Linked DNA regions of Homo sapiens: region 2 is linked to region 1. The links are contacts of gene promoters, found by promoter capture Hi-C in human tissues and cell types (Jung and others, 2019). All regions are on one chromosome and are shown on one strand. The core of a region is centred on a gene start or on the middle of the fragment in contact, and the rest is flanking DNA. Distances in the headings are between cores, read along the strand shown.

Evidence for each region. Contacts are between HindIII fragments. The study calls those that stand out against the background at their distance.
Region 2: a fragment that was not itself captured here is called in contact with the fragment with the promoter of NOTO in region 1 in 7 of the 25 tissues and cell types used here (H1 embryonic stem cells, IMR-90 fibroblasts, bladder and 4 more).

The regions. Positions count from the first base shown.
Region 1 is chr2:73,201,092-73,204,503 of GRCh38, reverse strand. It overlaps NOTO (notochord homeobox), which reads right to left and starts at 1,930. Exons shown (of 3, transcript NM_001134462.2): 1 at 1,456-1,930. The coding sequence starts at 1,837. RefSeq lists an enhancer at 536-1,087. The HindIII fragment of the contact is 15,336 bases long and covers 1-3,412 here.
Region 2 is chr2:73,008,364-73,011,775 of GRCh38, reverse strand. All of the region lies in intron 6 of SFXN5 (sideroflexin 5), which reads left to right. It overlaps LOC107985897 (a long non-coding RNA gene), which reads left to right. Exons shown (of 2, transcript XR_001739535.2): 1 at 1-2,593. Among named protein-coding and RNA genes, the nearest start is that of SFXN5, 62 kb to the left of the region's middle. The HindIII fragment of the contact is 3,728 bases long and covers 1-3,412 here.

The DNA.
Region 1 (3,412 bases), core at 681-3,180:
GGATTGGGGTGGGTGCCACGGAGTAGGAACCCGGCAAGACTGTGTTACAACTATCTTTGTATGGGTTGATAAGGCTTGGACTAACTTTGCTCCTGTTTTCTTCGTGGGGACATGGGGAAACATGAACCTGGCAACCAAAAATGGCAAAAGCACGTGTAGGTGGATGTTTAATGCTAGAAGGCAAAGTTCCCTCTATAGTTACTTTTTTTTGTTGATTTGTTTGTTTGAGACGGAGTCTCACTCTGTTGCCCAGGCTAGAGTGCAGTGGCGCAATCTCGGCTTAATGCAACCTCAACCTCCCGGGTTCAAGTGATTCTCCTGCTTTAGCCTCCTGAGTAGCTGGGATTACAAGCGCGCGCCACCACGCCCTCCTAATTTTTTGTCTTTTTTTTTTTTTTTTTTTTTGAGACGGAGTTTCGCTCTGTCGCCCAGGCTGGAGTGCAGTGGCGCGATCTCGACTCACTGCAAGCTCCGCCTCCCGGGTTCACGCCATTCTCCTGCCTCAGCCTCCTGTGTAGCTGGGACTACAGGCACGCGCCACCATGCCCGGCTAATTTTTGTATTTTTAGTAGAGACGGGGTTTCACCGTGTTAGCCAGGATGGTCTCGATCTCCTGACCTCGTGATCCGCCCGTCTCGGCCTCCCAAAGTGCTGGGATTACAGGCGTGAGCCACCGCGCCCGGCCAATTTTTTGTCTTTTAAGTAAAGATGTGGTTTCACCATGTTGGCCAGGCTGGCCTTGAACTCCTGACTTCAGGTGATCCACCCGCCTCGGTCTTCCAAAGTGCTGAAATTACAGGCGTGAGCCACCGCGCCCAACCTTACAATTACTTTCTCATGAGATTTAAGTGCCTGGCCCTTAAGCACTACTTAAGAGCATTGCATGCACGCAGGCTCAGAGCGAAGTGTGTAGCTCAAGTTCACAGACGTGAGCAGTGGAGGCGGTAGTGGGGTGTGAGCCTTGACCAGCTCCTAACAGCTCCTCGCTCAACAGCACCGCCCGGAGCGTCCACTTCCCCCTACCCCGTAAAAAAAAAAAACAGGGCCATTGGTTCGGGTCGAGAGCCGCTTTGGGAAGCGTCTCTGTCACTAAGCGCTACCCCGGGGTGTGCGAGGGAGTCAAGGGACGCGGAGACCGGGAGCAGGGCTGGGTCCCCTTGCAGCCCCAGCGCTGGCCTCCTGCCCACCGCATTCAGGCGCTGCGCCGCCCTCACACCCACCCTCTCCCACCTCAGCAGCGTGCGGGGGAAGCCTCGCGCCGGGGTCTTTTTCAGCAAGACTGTCGCGGTCCTCGGCTTCAACTGCAAGGTAAACGGTGGCAGAGCCCCTTCCCACTCCAGCCGTGTGTGATTCTCACACTCAGTGCCCTCTCCTGCACTGGGGCGCCGGCAGTGGCGACCTAGGCTCTCCAGCCCCCGCCCAGTCCCCCGCGTGCGGGCGCCGGGACCGCAGTACCTGTGACGCCGAAGCCCAGCAGGCCGCAGACGGGAGCCACGCGCGGCCCTGGCACAGGGTAAAAACCTACGCTCAGGTAGGCGGGCAGCCACGATGTCGGGCAAGCCCAGGGCAGACCCCCGGTGGCGCACAGGGAAGCAGCGGTCCAGAAGGCCGGGTGGACGCAGGCGGAGCCCGACGGCTGGGAGGCCGCCGGCGCGCAGGGGTCGGGCCTCGCCAGGATGGCCTCGACCGAGAAAGGGGACTCGAAGCGTCCGGGAGCGCGGGGCGTGTTCGGGCCAGTAGGGGACCTGGGCGCCGGAGAGCGGCCAGAGCGCGGAGGTCGGACCCGAGAGCCCGAGGGAGCGGGTGGCGGGCTGCCTCGCGGCCTGGGGCTAGGCATGACGCGGCCGTTGCCCGGACGGACGCAAGGAAGGGAGCTCGGGAGAAGTGAGAAGATTCTGCAAAAGGCAGCGAGCAAGACCGGTTGTCTGGGAACCTCCTGGCGCTCGGCGAAGGCTCTTAAATTTGGCGGGGCGGGGCATGGGGCGGCCTCTCCCCACTGCGGTCCGGGCGGGGCCCCCAAAGCCTGTGAGCGCCCGCTCTGTGCGAGGCAAGGTGGGCACAGCACCAAAGAGTGTGTTCCCTCCCTTCCTCCGCTTTTAAAAATGCCCACCCTGGGGCGGTCGTGGGGAGGACTCTGAGCTCGCTGGTGATCCTGGGCGAAACACCCAGCCACCGGGCTCCGTCTTTCTCCTTTGCTCACTGAAGAAGGGATGCCCGTTTCCCCGGGGCCTTGCAGAGGCGGAGCTGTGATCTGGAGAGCGGTAGGGCAGTGCCTGCGGTCTTGGCCTCAGCTGACCCGCGCCGTCCTTGACGCAGAAGCCTCGGCCAGATTCACCTAGGACCGCGCGGACTTTTTGTTTGTTTGTTTTAAAATGTAAATATTTTATTTATAAGCACAGTGATAAGTACATTTTCCATCTGGCCTCAGCCCTTTAGTTTCCCTGCCTTGAGATGCGCTGTGATTACCAATTTCGTTCTTTCTTTAATATTTTTTTTGGCCAGGTGCAGTGGCTCATGCCTGGCATCCCAGTACTTGTGTGGGAGGCCGAGGCGGGAGGATCGCTTGAGCTCAGGATTTGATTTGATTTGATTTGAGTTGATTTAGGGGTAAAAGATATGGCCACTATGTCTCTAACCTTGGACTTTTAGTATATAATTCTGTGTTTCCATACATAATTATCAGTTTTCTGTTGTGTCATTTATTCCTTCTTCAGACTGTAAATTCCTGAGCATAAGCATTAATATCTCCAATTTACATATTAGTAAATACAGCAAGAGAGGTTAACAGAACTGCCTTGTTTCAAATCCCCTAGGTATGTGGTTTTAATTTGCATTTATTTCCCTGAAGACCGTTCATTGTGAGCATCTTTTTACATGCTTATCAGCCACTTGGATATCCTCTTTTGTGTGAAGTGCCTGTTCAACTGGTTTGCTTATTTTTGTATTGGGTCACTATGTTTTTCTTATTGTAAGAGTTTTATGTATAGATAATTTGGAATCAAGTCCTTCGTTGTAATATACATAGAAGCAGATAACCTCTGTCACTCTGTGGCCTGCCTTTTCATTCTTTTAGTAGTCCTTTTTTTTTTTTTTTCTGAGATGGAGTTGCCCAGGCTAGAGTGCAGTGGCACAATCTTGGCTCACTGCAACCTTTGCCTCCCAGGTTCCAGCGATTTTCCTGCTTCAGTAGCTGGGATTACAGGCATGTGCCACCACACCCAGCTAATTTTTGTTAAGTATACCAAAAATAAAGCCAAACGAATAACAGACTTTATTTTTATTCATTTATTTATTTATTTAGAGATGGAGTTTCACTCTTGTTGCCCAGGCTGGAGTGCAATGGCACTCGGCTCACTGCAACCTCTGCCTCCTGGGTTCAAGCGATTCTCCTGCCCCAGCCTCCTGAGTAGCT
Region 2 (3,412 bases), core at 452-2,951, 190 kb after region 1:
CACTAGTATTCATTCATCTTTTTAACGTTTTTGCCAATCTGATGGGAGAAGGGGTAGATTCTCATTATACTTTAAATTTTTGTTTCCATAAACACCAAAAAGATGTTGGTGCTTTTTAAATCTATTTATTGGTGATTTGTATTCCCCCTTCTCTGAATTACCTGTTCACACTCTTTGTCCATTCTTCCATGGGCCATATTTTTCTAGTTGATTTGTAAGAGCTCTTTATGTATTTTGGACATTAATCCTTTGGATTATATATATGGCACGTCTCTTCTCCAGCTGTTTCTCCCTTATTCTCTGGTGTCTTTGTTATAGAAAAGTTTTAAATATTGATGTCTTTAAATATAATGATCTCTCTTTTGATTGATTTGAGTCTTTTTCCACTCCACACCTCCATCTCCTTTATTAAAATAACTGAGGCCAGGAGTGGTGGCTCACACGTGTAATCCCAGTACTTTGGGAGGCCAAGGTGGGAGGATTGCTTGAGCCCAGGAGTTTGAGACCAGTCTGGGCAACATAGGGAGATCCCATCTCTACAAAAAAGTTTAAAAATTAGCCAGGCATGGTGGTGTGCGCCTGTGGTCTCAGTTACTCAGGAGGCTGAGGTGGGAGGATTACTTGAGCTGAGGAGTTTGAGGCTTCAGTGAGTTTTGATTGTGCCACTGCACAATTGATTGATTTGTGAAAGCTATGTCGTGGAATCAGCTCTTGGATGTATTTATCAATTCTGTATTCTAATTATTCTTTTATGCTTTTGTTTTTATAATATCCTTTTTCCCTCCTTTCTTTGTTTGTGGTTGGTTTTCTTACTTTTTGCCTTGAATGCTTAGTTTATTTATTTTCCTTCTAATGAAAGTGTTTAGTGCTGTGAATTTGCCTCTGAATATATCTAAAACATGGCTATATCTGATATGTTTTCATATATAGTGATCTTATGTTGTTATTTTCTAAATAAGCTTGGAATTATAATTTCAAATCCTCTTTAGTCAATTAGAAGAACACATTTTAAATTCTAAGTGGTTGGGTTTTAAAAAATGTGTTCTTTTGTTATGTTCTAGCTTATCTTATTTTCAGAGAAAGTGACCTCTACAATTTTGCCAAATTTTGCCATTTGGGATTTATTGTGGTTTTCTTTGTAGCATGGTATCTGAATATGTCAGTTAGGATCAGGGTCATCTGCATGTAACAAAGTCCAAAATAACAGTGGCTTAAACAAAATAGTTTATTTCTCTCTTATGTCAAAGAAGTTTGGAGATAAGGAGGACCCCCACAATATCATCAGGAACCCAGACTTCCATTTTTCTACACCACCATTTTCAGTACTGGCTTCTATTGTAAAAAGTCACCCCATAGCCCGAGATGGCTGCTGGAGTTCCAGCCATCACATTCACATTCCAGAGAGGAGAAAGAAAAGAAGAATAGTAGGCTATATCTCCCAACCGAAATACATTTATCTTTAAGATACAGCCTCTCTTTAAGGAGCCTTTTGGGAATTTCCATGCAACATTCCATGTTCTGCATATATTTCATTCAGAATTTAGCTGGGTATATACATTTCATTTAGAATTTAGCTGGGTATATAGTTGATCCCCAATTATATAAGGATTCTATTAGTAAGAAAGAAGGGAAGAATGGTGATAGGCAAACAAGAATGCCATAATAACTTTTATAAATATTCCATCAACACTTTAAAAGATATACAATTTGGTGGTATCATCACTTTGTTAAACTGGGTAACTGGGTATTTGAAATGGCAAAAGTTGAATGTGGGGCTCATTTTTCCCTGAGAAGCCAAATGGACCCTTACACAATTATCAGCTGCCATCAAGTGGGAAGAACTGGCCAACCCAGCAGATGCCAGCACTGTCTTCCATTCACAAGGAGTTACTGAGGCTCACCCCATACGTTTCCACTCTCTCCTTACCCTACCCTAGACAAGCCCATCATTGCAGGGTCACTATGGCCCTGTAGGCAGGTGGGAGACTTGGATGCTGATCCACTCCCCTGCCATTCAGGGGTTCATTGCTGAAGCAGATGCTGTGAATGTCCTAACAGGACCGATCCTTTCCCAGCCTGGAGCAAGCATCCTTCTGTGAATAAACGCATGTGGTGTAAGAAGAGGATGCCCTGGCCCCCAAGATCCTGTGTGAATACTTGATGGAGGCGAAATGGGGAGCATGGCCTGGGATACCTCCCAGCAGCTCTACGAGGCAGCCAGAACTGAAATGACAATGCTCACCTATCCCCACTTCCTAGCCCCAGATATCTGTATCCTGAGGTTCAGAACAGTCAAGCCAGAGGCTGAGTCTCCAGAGGAACCACTGGATTTGAAGAACCTGGGCCTCCCACCTTGGCACTTTCACATGGACAAGCAACATGGTCCGTCACCACTCCTCCCCACCCCTGGGCCACTGCCTCGTCTTGTGTGGAAAGAGCATGCTGGCTGCTCCAGTGCTTCCTGCAGCCCCATCAGCTTCTCCAAGGCCCTGCTGTCGCCTGGTAGCACTGAACATTTAAGCAAATGCCTGGTCTGAAGGGGAGTGAAGGTTCCAGTCCACACCTTAGGAAAGCCCCTGGTCTGATGGAGTGGGTAAGAAAATATACGCATGCAGAAGCCACTAAAAATGCTTACCAAAATAGAAACGAGGGTGCCAGCGAATGTGCTAGGAACTGGGTCCCTGAGTGATGAAGGGAAGGGGCGAGTAAGGCTGGCAGGTGCCTCAACTGAGAAGCTTCTGGAAACCACAGTCAAGCTGCCTTCTGCCCAGGTGCACATCCCCAGCTTGACCCCTACGCTGTTTCCACTTTGCCCGGGAGTCACCTCGCCCTACCCTGCTCGCCCCCCAGAGCTCAGGAGAAACGAGCTGGTTTTCTCCCAGAGGCTGGTGCCAGTTTAGTCAGCAGATTTCACAGATCCACTGGCAACCATGTAGTGTCTTATTTTAAGCTTAACATTTGAAGATGGGAACTTTTTCCCCCTTCGGTGTGTGGCAAAGAGATCCCAATTTATACATAAGCACCGCGGCTATGCCGGTGCACTGAGGCTGTCCCTGAGGCTCTGCGGTTCGTCACTCCCTTTCTTCAGGTATCTTTCCAGAAAAAACCCGCCAGCGTGGTTGCTTCTTATACACGGCCTCTCCCTTCCCAGGTTTCCCCTAAGCACAGCACTGCCGCTTCCATGCACGTGGCCTGGGAGAGGCAGGGCCCGGCTTGGCCCTGGTGGTCCGGCCCTCGTCCTGCCTGCCCTCTCCATTTCTCCTCTGCTCCTGCGCCCTCTTCCCTTGGCTGCTGCGGAATGCCTCGGATGCCAGGGCCTGGGTTTCCCTCATGGGCCTGGGGCTCTCCCAGAGAGCATTTGTGCCTCTCTCAGCCCTGAGCTCCCCACAGCACTGCTTCCCTCCCCTCTCCT